Regions from separate parts of the Homo sapiens genome. Here regions 1, 2 and 4 are each linked to region 3. The links are contacts of gene promoters, found by promoter capture Hi-C in blood cells and fetal thymus (Javierre and others, 2016). All regions are on one chromosome and are shown on one strand. Each heading gives the region's core, a stretch centred on a gene start or on the middle of the fragment in contact. The rest is flanking DNA. Distances are from core to core; before and after follow the strand shown.

Region 1 (3,169 bases), core at 415-2,914, 320 kb before region 3:
CCCAGAGAGCAGGATGAGCACCTCCACTCTCCCCTGAGGAAGCTGGGCCCCACAGGGTGAAGGTCAGGTCAAGGTCACACAGGAACAGCCGGCAGAGCCGAGCTCCGAGGCCAGGTGTACATCAGAGCGCTCTGTTCCAAGCATCCTCCTACCCCAGGCTGGAGGGGGTTGTGAGGAAAGCCGCTGGGCACCTGGATGGCTCTGCCCACCAGGCCTCTGCTGTCACCCCAGGGAGGCCCACATAGCCTTTACTCACAAATTGTGCTTTCGACCAGACCCCCTTTCCCTGCCAAACCTGCACGTGGTGTGCCCAGAGAAGCGGAACAAGGCAACGTACTACCTACCTCAGTCCCCACGCCCACTCTCCCACGGCCCCTGCTGGGTGGGCCGGCTGCAGGAAGGCCGAGGCCCAGCAGGTGGCGGTCGCGCTCCACCAGCGCGAGCCGGAGAAGGGCGGGGCGGGCGGCGCCGGAGGTGATCCGCCTTCCCGTCCTTCTCCAATCCCCGGCTCTGCTCGTGGTCACTCAAGGGCCCTCCCGTTGGGGGCTAACTGCTGGTGGGAGGGAGTGCCCTCCCGGCAGATGCTCCCCGCCCGGGCAGCGCGCCGCGCCCGCCTGCAGCGGCACAAGTATGCCCCAGACGCGAGCCCTCGGGCCTCGTCCTGGTCCTTGCCTCCCGAGGCAAGGCCCAGCTGGGTGCTGGCAGGACTCCCCCTTCCCCTCCCCCTAGGACAGACGGCGCAGACGGAGGCGAAGGACAAATGAAAGCGCGAATGGTCGGCCACACGGTTGGGTGGCTACACGGACACTAAACCGACCGAGAAACGAACTGTGGCCGGAGACAGACACTGGGTAGACCACAGCACGCGCGGACAAGCACCTCCTTCCGCTTGAACTCCACCACGGCGCTGGCGGTGTCGACGCCCGCGGGGAAGGTGGGCGCCGAGTCGTCCTCGTCGTACACGGTCACCGGGAAGGGCACCATCACCACCTCCTCGCGCGCGCCGGCGTGCACGGTGCACACGGCCACCAGCTCGTACTTCTCCCGCTGCTCGCGGTCCAGGGCCCAGCGCGTGCTCACCTCCAGGCTGTCCGGGGCGCAGCGGAAGGGCAGACCCTCACCTGCGCACCAAGCAGACAGGGGCCCCGCGTGATCACCAGCCGGGACCGGGCCAGCCGCTTTCCTCGGGAAGGGGGCTCTGCGGTCAGAGCGGGGCGCACACCGCCGCGGCCCCAGGCCTCCCCTCCTCCGCTCCACAGGGGAGGGCAGCGCTCGGAGCACGAGTTTGCAGTTTGCAGCGATGACTGTGCTTACGAGTTTGCAGTTTGCAGCGATGACTGTGCTTACGTCCTGCTGCAGCTGCGTCCTCACTCGTGCTGGTTGGGAAGAGCCAGGACCAGGCACCCTGATCAACCAGTAGGGACTGGGACACCCCTCCGCCCACCTGGCCTTGATCAGGAGTGGCCTTGTGTGGGGAAGGGTGGCTTTGCCTCAGCCCAAGCTGCACTGCAGCCCTAGAGAGCCAGCTACTGGCCTTGGCTGCTTTTTTTTTGTTTTTGATGGAGTCTCGCTGTGTTGCCCAGGCTGGAGTGCAGTGGCGCGATCTTGGCTCACTGCAACCTCCAACTCCCGGGTTCAGGCGATTCTCCTGCCTCAGCCTCCCGAGTAGCTGGGACTACAGGCGCCCGCCACCATGCCCGGCTAATTTTTGTATTTTTAGTAGGGACGGCCTTTCACCATATTGGTGACCTTGGCTGCTTTTTAAAAACTGTTAGGTTTTTTTTTTTTTCAATTATGGAAGCAATATGTGTTCATTTTAGAGAACGTGAGAAAGCCACGATTCTACCACTTGAAAACAAACACAGTGGACATCTGGGGTATGATGTGACATTAACGCATAATGATTTCCGACCGCCTAGTGTGCATCCCCACTCTACACCTCCTTGTCCAGTGCGTCGCCAGGCTGGTCATCCTCTGAAGGCCGGATGTCGAGACAAAAGCGAATGCTCCGTGCCCTGCATGGCAGCTCGCGCTAGACTACATCGCCCCTGAAGCAGGGCCAGGAACCACAACACAGTCTTCAACGAGCCTGACCTCGGATTTGTCCTCCAGAAATAATCCAGAAAAGGGGGCATGCTGAAGGCGGAAGGTCACCGCTGAAGACCCCACAACCCACCCCAAGGAGGCGGGGGCAACTCCACAAGCCTCCCAGGCAGAACCATGCCTTGCGCATGAATTACGTATGTGGGAAATGCTTATCATATAATGCTTTCCTCTGTTGAGTGTGATTACAAAAAACCCCCCACTAAACTAAATTTAATCACATAATTTTTAGTGAAAAAGGGCAGCATGCAAAAAACCAAGTGCTCCATCAACCCTGCCCCAGAGAATGAAAGGAATCTGGGGAAGCATAAGTGATGGCTTGTCTTCCTTTACTGAGATTTTAATATTCTTGCCATGTTTGTGTGATAAAGTTAGTGTGAATTTAGGACACACTTGCCAGCGGTGCAGCCTCTGTGACCTGGTTGAGCCCCACTTCCTGACTTTCTGATGGTCAAATGGGGCCTCCCTGCACCTAGTCAGCTGCCTTCTCCCCTCTCCACTGGGATCCAGCTCATCCCACCCTCTGACTGGCTGCAGCTGCCTGCTTCTCGCCATGCCTCGGCTTCCACCCGTATCCCGGCATCACACCCCACATCCTCCTGTTCAGAGGTTTCTCCTGTAGCCTTCTGATTGTCTCCCAGCTTCGCCCCTGAACCTTCCCACCCCAAACCATTCCTAACACAGTAGTCTGACTAATCCTTTTAAAACTAAGTCAGGTCCTGCCAGCACTCCCTCCCTCCAAAGTCTTCCATAGCTCCCCATGTTCCTCCGGAGAAAGCCCTGCAAGCCACTCCCAGACCTGCCCCCTGCCCCAGGAACTATTCTGCCCCATCAGCCTCAGCTCTTCCCTGTCGCTCAGTGCACTCCAGGCACACGAGGGTCACACTGTGGTGCCCTCCAAGGGGCTAGGCCTGCCTACCCGGCACCCTCCCACCTTTGCTCTGCTAGCCCCCACCCTGACCACCCAATTTACGATAGAGGAATGGAGGTCTCCTCGTCTGTTCCCCTCCTCTTCAGCGTTTCCCTCTTCCCAGTTTCCTCCCCAGCTAGCTCCTTCCAGAAGCCA
Region 2 (5,114 bases), core at 2,488-4,987, 350 kb before region 3:
ATTGCACCACGGGCACTCTAGCCTTGGTGGCAGAGCAAGACCCTATCGCAAAGCGGCGGGGGGAAGCATGTGACCCAGTGTTACCTAACCCATATCAACTTGTACACATTGACCAGAACCTTGCATGCTAAATCCTGAATGGCAAAAGTTGACTAGACTCCCCCAAAAGGGATCCTAGGATCCCACTGTCCACAATAAAACTGAAGAGTTAACAAAGAGGCTCAAAACATAGGGCAAAGTCTTCTAAAAGCCATATCTCAAACATTCCCCCCACCAAAAAGATTAGACCATAATCCCTTGTCATGCAAAAACAAACAAACAAACAAAAGGACCTGCAGGAGTTTTTTTTGGGATAGGCTAGAAAATACATTGTATCATTTGGGAGTCTAGAAAGTGGCCCTTTCATTGCTTGTTGTCAAGGAGCTAAATCTGAAATCGGAGACCTAATCAAAAACAGAAATGAGAATGGGAAATAGCCCCTTAACCTGAACTACAACACCTGGCAGACATTTTAAAAGTGCTTTAGAACAAAAATAAGACAGGACCTAAAATTAACTTGTGGCCCTGCTGATCAAACAGCTGGGTAGCCCCTCCCCAACCAGTCAGCTACTGACAAGGGCACTTATAGATACTGTATACAGAAAGGACACTGAGAAAAAAAGATTGTTCAACTTAGAAAACAAAAATCAAGACAAAAAGAAAAATCCCTCACTTGAGATCAATGAGGTGCACTGGGGAAAGGAAAAGCACCAATATCCTGCAATACCTTTAAACACCTGCCATGCATTAACCATACATAGAAATGGTGCGTTGGTTTTCCTAGGGTTGCTGTAACGATTTACCACAAACCGGTTGGTGTAAAACTGCAAAAACCGTAACATCACCCTTGGTTATTCAGCACTCTAACTGGGGAGTTACTGACTCATTGTTTATGCAAACAATCAGAGCAATGTTCTCATCTGTGGGAATCCTGTTGTCATAAACTTATCATTAACCCTGGCAGAAGTCATTAGCAATGCCCCTTCTTCCCTAGATGGGGCACCTATCAGTCTCAACTCATTGGCATGAGTAGTGATGGACAGTCTCATTGCTGTAGATTTCTTGTTGGTTGGTGATGGCCTCTGCCACTGCTAATACTGCATCTGGATCAGTGAAACAAGAGAAGGTAGAACAGGTCACACATCACCTTGAGGCAAAAGCTATTTGGCTTTCTAAGGTTGATCCTCATGGCCTATATGGGATTTGCTCTTGGCCTGCATTGGTCAGCTGAGGTTTGCGTTCAAAGCGTCTCACAGGGACAGTTGCTCTTGTTTCTGTCATAGTGGTCCTGATGTTGTTCCACTGCATCCCATTCTTGTCAAATGAGCACTGTGATGCTATAACAACAGAAGGATCAAGATCTCACAATACGGTTGACCAGAGAGACAACTGAATAATCTCTGAGCAGTGAAGAGCTGGATCTCTAGACTTCCTTGAGTTGGCCAACCTTTTACAAACAAGAAAATGACCGACAAGGGGGACTAAGAGACTGAACATGCAAACAGACAATGGCCAGACCACATACGGCCAGAGGATTTGAATCAGATTCTCTGCAGAACTAGCCAGGAAGCCAAACCACAGCCTCTGTAACAATTATCCCAGAATGGTTAGGACTTGGTCAGGAACTGCAAGCTTCCCTATTTTTTGCCCACTGAACTAAACAGAGAAAGCCACCTGTGTCCCCCAAACCAATCACATAAGAGGCCCTCCTCCTGGTTAGCTGCCTCCAGCTTCCCCAGGCCAACAAGCCCCAATCACAGCATCCCTGAAGGCTTCTCCTCACCCTCCCCACCTTTTATTTTTTACTATAAGGCTTTCCCACTCCTCTGCCTGCTTTTGAGTGTCTGCCAAAAGTAAGTGATCCTGGCTGACTCTCTTGCTATAGCAAGTTCAGAACCAGTGGCTCCTGTGGGTTCTCATATGGGTAGCCTTTGCTTATTTCTACAAAGTTAAAGATTAGAGGTAATTGTGTGAATATCTCTTTAAAAATAGTGTCCAACCACACTTCCTCTACTTTTTCCAGTGACTGTCTTGTGAGACACTACAGCTCTTCCATCCTTGGTGTCATTCTTATTTTTAGAAATCATTTGCTATGATCTTACTTTTCTTCCCAGACACTGAAGTCCCCCAAACCCTCAGTGTGCTCCTTTACCATGGGGTTCTGAGCAATCTAAGAGCTTCAGGCCCTGTGGCCAGAGTCTCCAGGAAAATTCTCAAGCTCTTGAAAACTCCCAGAAGAAAGGCACAAAATATGGAGCAAGGCACACGCCCTAGGGAGAGGGGAGGCTCCAAGACATGGGTGCTGCCTGGCTCCCTGCAGTCCTCTGACCAAAGTCTCTTGCCCCTGGAGACCCCTTCTTCCATGGGAGAGTATAGAAAAGGATTGATGTGCAGGTGAGACAATCGAGCAGCCAAGAAACAGGTTGCTCTTCTGTTAATACATTGAGAAAAATACACAAAAACTTGAATGTTTTAAATGAATTTCATATTTTTATTCAAGAAATTGACAGTCTGCATGGTAAATATTGTCTGTGTATGAAATATCAAACTTGTTTCCTTCTCAGAAAATGAAAAATGATTTTTTTTAGCTTTAGAATTCACTTACCTTGCTTACCAGCACATTTTTAGCTTGAACTGCTCAGTGTCATCTGAGAGGATGCAGGTCTATGATCTCTCCCAGTGTGGTAGTCACAGTGGCTGGGGTAGTTTCAGACCGCAAGCTCCCTCCATGATGACCTTCACATTTCTGCAGCCCCCACAGTGAGATGTGCCCCCATAAAGGATCCCCTGCCCGGGGTCCAGCTGAGAGATCTTGCTTGGCCAGGTCCTGTGATTTAACACCTCAGAGACATCTGCAAAAATACCTGGTCACTTGACACAGCACTCAAATTTGTAGTTGCAAAGATAAACTGTGATTTCTCCAGGGTGTTCAGAGTGTTTGCCTCCTTAACTCCTGGGAGCAGCCTGCCCTTGCAGCCCTCAGACGGCCACTACCTGGCCTCAGCAGCAGGACACAGTAGTGGCCCCACGCTGAAAAGTTCTCTACATGCAGGTTCTTATGACCTCAGCTAAGATGATCCTTCCTGAGTCCCAGCTCCCTGAAGAGGTGGGAGACTCTACACAGTTTCGGTCAAGGCTGCTGCCATGGAGAAGGGACAGGGCCACAGCAGGAGCCCTGGCAGAGAGGGTGCTTTCCCTGCAGGCGCACAAGCCTAGGACTTGCACCTGGAGCATCTTCATGTGGAAGACGTGTGGGGCCACGCACACTGCTGCATGCACCCTGAAGACCCACCTTTCTGCTTTTTCAGGGCCACAGAGGTTAGGATTCCCTAGGACTTCCTAGAACCACCCCCCAGTTGTGAGGACCACTAAACACAGGCGAACCTCAGAGATACTGTTCCAGACCACTCCGGTAAAGCAAAGAAGATTGAAGATCCCAAATAAGTGAGCCACACAAGTCTCTTGGTTTCCCAGTGCATATAAAAGTTACACTTTACACTGTACTGGAGTCTGTTAAGTGTGTGACAGAACTATGTCTAAAAAACAATGTACATACCTTGGTTTAAAGATTCTTTACTGCTTAACAGTACTGATAGAGAGACATGAAGTGAGTGTGGGCTGTTGGAAGAATGGCCCTGATAGACTTTCTCGACGACTCAGCGTTGCCACAAAACTTCAATTTGTGAAAAACGCAATAAAGCAAAGAGCAATAAAACAAGGTGTGCCAGACACTATGCGTGAACGCACCCGAGGCAGAGAGAGGCACCGCTAACTGCTCCACCTGCCTGCGGGAGAGGCTTTCTTTATATGTTAGAAATTATGCTTTCCCTTCAAAATTTCTTTTGTGTATGAAGTATTTGTTCAAGCCCTGTTCTCAGGCACATTCAACTAGATTTCTGCCCACATAAGCTGGCCTCGTGGTGGGAAGAAATCCTTCGTGAAGGTTGGCAGAAAATGTGTTTTTAGGGGAAAATAAAACAGCAAACATACACACACAAATAGTCCTAATGTAGAGTCTACATTAGGGGTGGCTTTTAGCATTAACTTTTCTTGGCGTAGATTTCTACTTTCAGAGGTAAAGGCTACAGCAAACAGCTGGCTCTGGAGATTACGTTCACTTCCAGCCCGTGGTCCAGGCTGAAGGAGGAAGCCGTGAGCAGACACAGACACCCACGGCTGGGAAGCGGGGCCTCATGGGCCTGGGGCGGGCACTGGGCGAGGCGTGCCAAGGCCTGCATGTACACCACCTGGCGAGGCGTGCAAAGGCCCACGTATACACACGTGTATGTGTGTGACACAGGCCGTTGGCATCTGACACAATGCAATCGCAGATGAGACTGATGTTGACAACAACTCCCGTTTGCCCACTGACCCATCAGCTCCACGCCCGGCATGAGAAGCTCAGAGAATTCCTCGGGGAAGACATAAACAGAAGTAGTGAGTATGTCAGGCTTCATGGTGGTTCAGGACAGCATTTTCCCTCACACTTCTAATGGCCTTCCTCAGGACTTGGCATTTTGTATTCTGTCTCCCACAGCTCTAAGGCCAACTTCAAAAGATCAGCAACAAGCAAATTGCTAGAGAACTGTGAAGACCTAAACTTGACACTGGCTGCTGCTTTGTTCTAGGGATGGACACTTTTAAGGAAGGGATTCCTTGAACAGTGGAGTTAGCTGAGTTTTTCAGTTTCTATCAATGTGCCTATTCACACGCAAATGTACCAGATAAGCCAGCGATATCTCCAGAGCCCCTAGTCCTCGACCACTATTGATGCCTCAGTGGTTATCATGATAGAATTCTTTGTGATGTTTTAAATATTGTATGGAAACTACAAAATCAGAAATCTGTTGTTTCCAACTAGAATGTTAAAAAGAAAAAAAGTTTACACATTTTATGATACATGATTTTATTTACACAACTGATTTTCTTAGTCACCTTGATTACAAAAAAAGGAACATGATCTGGTTTAATGACCTTTCATAAATAGATTTTACAAATTTTAATAACTGACAGATTACTACTTAATACTCAGTAATACTTAATACTTAGTAACTTCTGCATTTACGTGTATGAAA
Region 3 (4,557 bases), core at 1,742-4,241:
TCCCATGATATGACAATATTTAACATGTTCCACTCAAGAAAACAACAAACGCATGCATGTCCCTCAGATGACAACAGCCACGCCAACTCTGTGTCTGTGGTGGCATCTCCTACCTGACACAATCGTCACAGGGCCTCTGATCTCAGTCAACTTCTGCCGGGTAAAGTTCCGAATGAGGCATTGTATCAAAGTGCTCTTTCCAACTTTTGGAGGTCCCATCACCACTACCACTATTGGTGGGGGCTCTAGTGGAGTTCGATCAACCACTGGAATATGATGCTTTTTTGTCTTCAAATCCTGAGTCCTATTCATTAAAAAATAAACAAATAAATAAATAGTAAACTCATTTTCAAAATAGAGTAAAAGGTATCAACCTTATAAGTAGACTTTTTTGGTACACTTATAGCTATGAGTACTTTAGCACATTTTATAGAGAGTACAACAGACAATATATAAATATAATTAACTTGTCAATTATTAACTTGCTAACTTCTGGCCCCATCCAAATAATTGCTGTTCAATAAAGATGTAACAAGATGACTTCAATACTATAGAGAGCGAAAATTAAACACTCCTTAAATCTGACTGTTTTAAGAGTGATTTTAATAGTTTTTTAAAAAACCAAAAGGTAAATAGCGAGGCAGTACATCATAGCAGATAAGAGCAGAGGCGCTGGAGTTACATTTAGCTCTCCTACTTACTGGTTATATGATTGGAGGTAACTTGTTTTCTTGATCTCAGTTTTCTTACCCATAAAATGAGGGCAAGAATGATTCCTACTCTGGTAAGGCTGCTGGAAGGATTTAGTTGAATAATGTTTAAAGTACACTGCTAGGCATATCACAAGGGCTCACTAAATAAAGCTATGTTAGTATTAAATATTGTAATTTTTGTATTTTATATTACAACTATGTAAAACATACCTGGGGGGAAAAAGCACACTTATCACCATAGAAACAGTTTAAAATTTAGGAACAAACAAAGTCTATAAATTCTTGTATCCTGGGCAATAAACACTAACCAGTATGCAGATGCTGGAGGCAAGGCAGCTTCTATGGGAAAAGCTTCTCACGTTTTAGTGAAAGCCACACACCATGAATCTCCATGTCCTTTGGAGCTGGACTAGACTCGTGAATCCAAATGTCACCTGTGAGAGGCTCCTACTATTTAAAAAAAGAATCAATGGAAGAATGACCAGACCGTAGCCTAACATACCTGTGAAAGGATCGAGCCATCCGCACAGCAGACTGAACTGCAAAAGCTTTGGGATTTCTCTTCCGGGCATCTTCTTCGTCTCCTAGCTGGAGATCCTGCAGAAGCCGCTTCTTTTTCTTTGCAGCTTTGGGTCCACTGTTTTTCTTTCTGTGTTTCTTCTGGTCCTTAGCCTCCATAGTGGCTATTTACCAATAACAAGTAACTCTAACCTACAAGGAAGAAGGTTGGGGTAAGGAGATGGGAGAAGCATTTTACAATCCAGGCAATACCCAGGGAAAAACAGTAAATTTCATTTATTTCTTTATGAAGAGATGATGTATTTGTTCACTGAACAAGGGTAGAAACTGCTTAACCATCCCCAATTTCATTTCTCTCTGTTATGCTATAAATTAGATGAGTTACCTCTCTTAAGATTACATTTTATGGTTAAGTTACTTTTTATTCATCTTAAGTGTCAACATCAGCAGTATCTATTTCTGCAAGGATAGAAATATACTATATCTGTACTTTTCAGCCATTTAGCCATTAGCCACATGTGGTTACTTACAATATACTTAGGGAAACTGAAAAAATGAGTTTTTAATTAATTTCATTCTAACTCCAAATAGTCACATGTGGCTACCATACTGGACAGCTCAGACCCAGGTATCAACTGGACTGATGAAGTGGTTTCCTAACTTAAACTAAAACTTAAATTTTAATAAAAAAATGTGAAACGTTTTTATGAACCTCCAATATGATCGCAGTATTACTTTTAGTACCTGTTGACTCTGTAAAACTCCTAAATTACAACTTATCTACATACATTTGAAAAATAGAAATAGCTGTACGTGTGAGATAGGACTGGTTCTAGATGACACCTGGAGACCCCATGAACTTACAGAGACCCTTCCAGTGATTTCTGAGTTACCTGGGAATCTGTGGCTAATAAATTGGCAATCACTGAATTAGTGAGTTATTTTAGGAAATCGGGCTGCATAAAATCTGACAGCTTGATTAAAAAAAAAAAGCGGAGCAGGATGCCATTTCATTCAATTAAGGTACTGTATTCATTCCGTTGAATAAATATTTGTGTCTGTCTACGATGTGCTAGGCACTGTGCCAGTAAGTGGATACAGCTATTATCTGACTTGCAGAGGAAATCCAAACTATTATCTTCCGCGCCACGCAATAAGGGCGACATTGGAAGGCTGCACAGGGTGCTACTGGAGCACGGAGGTGAGTCAGAGGCTTCCCACAGACACACACCAGCGGAAACAAAGTCTTTATGTATTACCATAATGTCAAGAACACTGGCCAGGAGTTAGGAGAGCTGGGCGCTAGGAACGCTTTGAAACCGAATAGCTGTGTGATTTCAGAGATTATGTTTCTTCTCTGCTATATTTTAGTTCAGCACTTGTACTAATGTTTCTCTCCCTGTCTTTCTTCTTGGTGGGAAAAGCACAATTTGGGGTCAACAGATCCAGCTCAGGTCTAAGTCTCCTACCGGGACCACGTCGCCAGGAAACGACGTCGCCCAGCCACCTTCCCTCCCCGTCTGGGCTCTCTGCAGGGATTCATCACGTCACTCACCCAACTACCCCAGGACACCTCCGCCAGATGAGAAATATGCCGCTCCTCGGGAGCAAAGATGACCCGGAGGACCGGGGGAGGACCTTCCCACACGCACGACTCGCGATCTTCCCAGTGCCCCAGAACCAGGGACCCCACCGCCGCCTACCCCAACCCGCAGCACCGAACCTGCTCGCAGCCGCGACTCCTCAGGTCAGCATGGACACCGCCGGAAACGGAAATTCACAGTCGCGCTGACTCGCCGGAGGGAAACAAGAAGGCAGAAAAAAGAGACCGGCATGGGGACGGCTTTCAGGGGAGAGCCTGAAGAAAGAGGGCTGAACAGCTGAGTGCGGACGCAGGCGCCGTCCGCGCAGTGCGTTCCACCGGGTCCAGGTCCTTCCAGATTCCTCTCCACCCCGCCCTCGGAATCCGCGGCCTCAACTTCCGCGGTGGGACTCCGGAGCAGCGTGCGCCGCGCTCGCCTGAGTTCTCGCCGAAGGCCAGGGCGGCTCTGCGGCCTGGCGCCGGTTAGTTAGTGTGGTGCAAAAGCCGGAAGGAGACACATTTGGTCCTGGCCTCCCGGCAGTCACCGTGCCAAGGACGAATGGACTATCGCTTGATTTGGAGTACACTTCCTCCTCTTTAAAGATTACAGATGAGGGGGATCTCGCGTTCTGGGGTGCCCTAAAGCCCTCTTTTGGCAGGGCGCAGTGGCTCACGCCTGTAATCCCTACACTTTGGGAAGCCGAGGAGGGAGGATTGCTTGAGCCCAGGAATTCAAGACAAGCCTGGGCAACATAGGGAGCCTACCTCTCTCTCTTAAAAAAAAAAAAAAAAAAAATTAGCCGGCATCGTGCCGGGCGCCTGTGGTGCTTGTGGTCCCAGCTACTCTGGAGGCTGAGGTGGGAGGATCGCTTGATCCCAGGAGGCGGAGTCTGCAGTGAACTGAGATGAGCCACTGGACTTCAGCCTGGGCAACAGAGCAAGACACTGTCTCTAAGAAAAATAAATAACATAAGGCCCTCTTTTGCCAGGACCAACAAACCGTGAGGGCAGGGACAAACTGACCCAGCCTAAACTGCCTCGCCCTCCCTAAACCCGGGAAAGGGGCTTTACCTGAGTGAACGTAGCATCTTGCCGTTTTCTTACTGCACAGCTTTACCTTCCCAGGGATCCGCCCATTGCCACCTGAGGAAATGCCTTGGAGTCCATCTAATCCCCAGCCCAGCTACTTGGGAGCCTACAGAGCGTACATTGTCAGAGGATGCATCTTCCTTTAGTCTTGGAGGGTTTCTTTTCAATATGATCCCGCTGGTGCATTCAAGGCTCAATTCTACACCAAAAACTAGGCCCACTCCTGTCACGAGAACCCCAGGCGTCAGGTCTTCTCACAGGCACCTTGTTCTTGCCCTCAGCAGCCCCCAGGTATTCACTCTGCATATTCTAGATACTGGGTGCTGGACTTGGGAGGCTACCCACGTGGCACATGCTTCCCTTATCCCTGAAGAGCTTAGAGTGTTGTAACTTCTTCACACTACACCTCTTACTTCTTGAAGATTTCAGTATCCAGGTAGATAATCCTTCCAACATCCTTTTGGTCTCATGAAGCCCACTCCTGTCCTCTGCCCTACCTCAGCTTCCCCCTCCCTCCATGATCAGACCTTAGACCTTGTCAGGTCCAAGGACTGCAACCCCCACAGTATCCCACTCTGACCAGGTCTATCTATCCTCCTATCTGTCCAGGTCACTCCCTATACTGCCCTGAAACAAAACTCCTGCAACCTTACC
Region 4 (5,101 bases), core at 1,939-4,438, 390 kb before region 3:
CTCTCACAGAATGCCAGATCCCTGTAGCCAACTAGCAATTTGGCACCTCCCCTTGGATGTCTGATAAACAACACATGGCTACTATGGCTCCAGTTGAATCCCAATCTCTGCTCTCCCATTCCTTTCCTTTGCTAATTTCCTACATCTAATCCAACAGCAAGCTCTGTCAGCCCTATCTCTGAATCATATCCAAACCTTTCTCCGTAATTATAATACACTGTCACCCAAGCCACAATCATCTCCCCTTGTCTACTGTGAAAGCCTAACTGGCTGCTGCCAGCCAGAGCCACACACAATCCATTCTCCCTCCAAAGGCTTTCCAACATACTTAGCATAAAATCCCAATGCCTTCCAGAGGCTGAACAAGCTCTACATGCCCTGGCCCAGCTATGTGCCCCTCACCGGCTGTGCTCCAAACACCCTAGGAAACCCAGTAGCTGTTCTTTCTGCCTGAAACCACTATCCCCCAATCACAGCCTAGCTGGTTCTTTCCTGTTCTTTGGACAGCTCTGCTCAGCTTCATCTCAGAAACACCTTTCTGACCAAACAAGCCACAGAAACCACGGAGTCACTCTTTGCAACTCAGTCTGTTTTAATGATCCACGTGGCATGCATTATCTGATTTTACTTTCTGTCACCTCCTAATAAATAAAGATCCTCACGAGCAACAGCCATATCTGTTAGGGTCTAAGTGTCAGGGTGCCAGTGGTGGATAGTGCGTGGCATCAAAGGGACCCTCAATATTTGATGAATTAATATAACAGAGGCAGTGTGCACAGTGGACAGGAGTGGAGGCTGCGGAGCCACATCACCCAGCCTCCTGGGCCTACTCAGGCCAGTGTGTACTTGGACAGGCACTCGACTGCAGCACAGCTGTGAAAAATGGGGCAGTAATACTACATACCTCAGAGGTTGTTAGGAGGATTAAATGAATTAATGTGTAGGCAAAACAGAACAAGTACCCTGCACATAGTAAGGGGTTCATAAAAATATTAGCTATTATCATCATTTAAATGTTACCTAAAATATAGATACGCTATTTCCCGCTTTTTAGCTTTACATTTTCCTCTTCATTTACACGGCTGTATTTACATTTTTCACATTTTCCTTGATATGCAATATTCACCAGAGAATGTACCATAATTCAATTTATCCTTTTATTATTAGAGTTTTGCTTGCTTTTAATGTTATCAATTTATGCATATTACCATCATGTAGCTCGATTACTTCCCCAGGAAAGACTGTTGGGGGTGGAAATTACTGGATCAGAGGGATGAATCTGTTTAGAACTCGACTCAGAGAACTGGCCTGAATCCCCAACAGAAGCGACGGAGGAGCTCCCATCCCCCAGTCTTGCTCACATGGCTTTGCTTTTTAAAAGCAGTGACCTAACAGCAGAAACAAAGCATTATACTGCTGTTCTAAATTATTCCTAGTAAGGCTGACTATTTAAATATGTGAATTATCAACTGTCTTACCCATTTTTTTCCTTCTTATTTACTTCTAATATAGCTTTAAACATCAAGGAAAACAAGTTTTTGTCTTTTAAGTGAGGAGACTGAAGCTTAGAAAAGTTAAGCAACTTGCAAAGGTTACAAGTGGTGAAACTAGAACTTGAAGTGCTTAAACTTAAGTTGCTATGCAACACCTAGAATGAATCAGCATTCAAATCATTCTTCCCCTACAACCCTCCAAACCAGGCAAGAATATTAGCATGCTTTGGCCGGGTGCGGTGGCTCATGCCTATAATCCCAACACTTTGGGAGGCTGAGGCCAGCAGATCACAAGGTCAGGAGTTCGAGACCAGTCTGGCCAACATGGTGAAACCCCATCTCTACTAAAAATACAAAAATTAGCTGGGCGTGGTGGTGTGTGCCTGTAATCCCAGCTACTTGGGAGGCTGAGGCAGGAGAATCGCTTGAAACGGGAAGGTGGAGTTTCCAGTGAGCCAAGATCATGCCACTGCACTCCAGGCTGGGCAACAAGAGCGAAACTCCATCTCAAAAAAAAAAAAAAAGAGTATTAGCATGCTTTTACATTCCCTTCACGCTTCTATGTTGACTTTATTTGCCTCTTTTTGTTTTAATTAATTTTAATATACAACCTTTTATTTTGGAATAATTTTAGATTTACAAAGAAGTTGCAAAACAGTAAAGAGAGTTCCTGTATACCCCTCATCCAGTTTTAGCTTCCCCTAATGTTATCATCTTACATTGTTGTGGTACATTTGTCAAAACTAAGGAACCATCATTGCTATATTACTATTTAACTCAACTCCAGATTTCATTTGGATTTCACCAGCTTTCCCTTTACTGTCTTTTTTTTCTATTCTAGGACCTAGTCCAGGGCACCACATTGCATTTGGTTGTCATGTCTCCTTAGTCTCCTCTTGGCTATGATGGTTTCTCAGTCTTGTTTTTGGTGACCCTGACAGTTTTGAGGAAGAATGGTCAGGTATTTTGTACAATGCTCCTCAATGTGGGCTTGCTGCAGCTTTCCCTGTGACTTTCCTGGGGAAGTTATCTACGTTTTTGGAAGAGGACTGTGAGCTAAAGTGTCCTTCTCATTATGTCATGTCATGGGTACATGGTATCCCTTGGTTAAGGTGTCTGCTGGGTTTCTCCCGTGAAAAGTTTGTTTTTTCTTTCCATACTATGTTCTTTGAAAGTGAGTCCCCTAGTTCCACCTACTGGAAGAGGGAGTATCTACATAAGTTATTTGGAATTCTGTAAGGAAGACTTAACTTTTCTTTCCTATCTAGTCTAGTCACTCAATATTTATCTGCTCATTCACTCACTCATTTGTATCAGTATAGACTCATGGCTATTTACTTGATGCTTTGGGTTATAATCCAGGTTTAAGTTATTTATTTCATTGCTCAGGTTGTTCCAGCTTGGGCACTGGGAGCTCTTTCTGTTGGCTCCTGTGCCCCTTCGACATATTCCCCCTATCTTTTTATTGAGTGCTTTCTTACTTTCTGGCACTGTAAGATGCTCCAGGGTCTTCTTGTATATTTTTTGCCCCTGCCCTGGAATCAACCATTTCTCCGTGGACCTCTGGCTCGTTTGATTGGAGAATAGTATTAGAAACTAAGATTTGGAAGCTGAGTGTACTTGTTACTGTTAGGGTGTCACTGGTTCTAGGCCCTCTCAGCTGACAGCTAGGTAATACACATAAGTATACCATGTACATAACCCGCTGACATCTTAATCCCAAATTGGTATTAATTGCCTTTTTATTATGTCAACATAACTATTTACACTATTACATCAACAAATGTTTAGACTTAATTTTTTTGGTTGTTCACCACTATTTACTCTCAGGTCCTCCTCTCTCAATGTATACATTTATCATTTTGCTGGACTCGATTACAAAGGTCTGTTGAGAAATAAATTCTGAGTCCTTGAAAGCTCAAAAATGTCTATTTTGTCCTAAAATAGTAGGTTGAATATGAATTCTAGAATCAAAGTTACTTTTCTTCAGAATTTTCATAGTATTGCTTTATTGTTTTCTAACACCAGTGTTTTCAAAAAGAAGACGAATGCCAATCTGATTGTCACTCCTTTGTGAACAAACTGGGTTTTGCTATTTTTAGTGTCTCTGGAAGCTATTAGAATTGTCCTTTTACTGTTGTTCTCCAAACACCAGAAGATTTGTTTCTGCTTAGCTCTGGAAACTTTCTTCCATTTCCTCCACTCAATATTCTCTCTTTTCTGAACTCCTATTAATAATTTGGGAGCTTCTGGCTTGATCTTCCTTGTCTTAATTTTTCTCTCATGTTATCTCGTGAACTTTACGTGTCCAGTTGGGTTGTCTTCCAGTTTACAAATTTGATTCAACTGTAACCATTCTGCTATTCAGACCATTTACTGATTTTAAAAATATTTTCACAATTTCCAAGTTCTGATTTTTTAAAGCAACAAATCCTGTTTTATGAATTTAACATTTTCTCTAATCTCCTCAAAGATATATTTTAAAATTACTTTCTATCTGTATTCATATACTCATGTGTTAATTTTTCTGTGTATTAACACTTGGTGCCTCTTTCATAGTATTGTTTTTCCTCAAATGTTTGGTTAGTCTTGGTTAATTGCTACTCACTTTTGTTTCAAGTATTGTTCAGAAGTCCATGGCTGTTAGCTTTGATTACAATGGCCTATCTCCAGTCACAGTCAAGGAGATTAGAACAGGGTCTCAGGGGGAATGCGCTAACAGTAGTTCACTTTTGTAGTCTAGGGGCTCCCTAGCCACCCCGACCAGCCTCTCCAGCTCCAGGGACCACATGCACTGCCTTAGACTGAGGGTCAATCCCTGTGATGCCTGCTTCTCAGCACACCTAGAGAAGCATGTTTATTCCAGGCTCCCTCCATTCTGTCTGCTATGAGCTCAGAGGATGCAAAGCAGCCCCATCTTCACTCACTGTTCTCTTGAACACATTCTAGTCTGTTCTCTCCTCCAGAAATCTTACGCTAACTGCTATCGTCTTACAGAAAGTTCTCAAGACTTACGGCTGCTAACACCTTCTCTCATTTTCCAGTACTAATGTACCCTTTTCTTCAGAATAATTCACCGTCAGATATGGCAGACGTGGGTGCTCAGTTTGCCATTTTGAACCTATTTGTATTTATATTCATAATACTGGCCTATAGATAAGGTAGAGGCGTGTGTGTGTGTGTGTGTGTGTGTGTGTGTGTGTGTCTGTGTGTACTATGCCAAGTGTTGATATGAAGATAATGGTGGCCTCATAAAATATGTTAAGTACATCATATGGTGCTAATATTACCTGCTCTTTGAGAGTCTGGAAAAGCTTATAAATTAAAACATTGTATTTATATACCTACAGGGTAACTTTTTGATAACTGTTTTTTAAATGGCTCTTAATTTCTTCAGAGCTTCCACCTTTTTTTTGTTTTGTTTTTTTGAGATGGAGTCTCACTCTGTCACCCAGGCTGGAGTGCAGTGGCGTGATATTGGCTCATTGCAACCTCCGCCTCCCAGGTTCAAGTGATTCTTTTGCCTCAGCCTCCTGAGTAGGTGGGACTACAGGCTCGTGCCACCACGCCTGGCTAATTTTTTTATTTTTAATACAGACGGGGTTTCA

The links. The method cuts DNA at HindIII sites, captures the fragments that hold promoters and counts their contacts. A CHiCAGO score of 5 or more calls a contact.
Region 1: a fragment that was not itself captured here is called in contact with the fragment with the promoter of BMS1 in region 3 in 7 of 17 cell types (naive CD8 T cells, endothelial precursors, monocytes and 4 more); the score reaches 7.4 in naive CD8 T cells.
Region 2: a contact is called between a fragment that was not itself captured here and the fragment with the promoter of BMS1 in region 3, in 3 of 17 cell types (naive CD8 T cells, total CD8 T cells and total CD4 T cells). The highest score is 6.6, in naive CD8 T cells.
Region 4: a contact is called between a fragment that was not itself captured here and the fragment with the promoter of BMS1 in region 3, in 1 of 17 cell types (monocytes). The highest score is 5.4, in monocytes.

Annotation. Positions count from the first base shown.
Region 1 is chr10:43,102,904-43,106,072 of GRCh38, reverse strand. It overlaps RET (ret proto-oncogene), which reads right to left. Exons shown (of 20, transcript NM_020975.6): 4 at 880-1,121. Among named protein-coding and RNA genes, the nearest start is that of RET, 27 kb to the right of the region's middle. RefSeq lists enhancers at 1-61, 551-1,302 and a silencer at 322-551. The HindIII fragment of the contact is 7,011 bases long and covers 1-3,169 here.
Region 2 is chr10:43,130,166-43,135,279 of GRCh38, reverse strand. It overlaps RET (ret proto-oncogene), which reads right to left. Exons shown (of 20, transcript NM_020975.6): 20 at 4,929-5,114. Among named protein-coding and RNA genes, the nearest start is that of CSGALNACT2-DT, 5.7 kb to the left of the region's middle. RefSeq lists a silencer at 541-610 and enhancers at 3,745-4,345, 4,346-4,946. The HindIII fragment of the contact is 4,128 bases long and covers 1,674-5,114 here.
Region 3 is chr10:42,781,229-42,785,785 of GRCh38, reverse strand. It overlaps BMS1 (BMS1 ribosome biogenesis factor), which reads right to left and starts at 2,991. Exons shown (of 23, transcript NM_014753.4): 1 at 2,956-2,991; 2 at 1,216-1,424; 3 at 114-304. The coding sequence starts at 1,391. RefSeq lists an enhancer at 2,811-3,160. The HindIII fragment of the contact is 6,696 bases long and covers 1,264-4,557 here.
Region 4 is chr10:43,168,271-43,173,371 of GRCh38, reverse strand. The region is part of intron 6 of CSGALNACT2 (chondroitin sulfate N-acetylgalactosaminyltransferase 2); the gene reads right to left. Among named protein-coding and RNA genes, the nearest start is that of CSGALNACT2, 32 kb to the right of the region's middle. RefSeq lists an enhancer at 338-507. The HindIII fragment of the contact is 3,243 bases long and covers 1,567-4,809 here.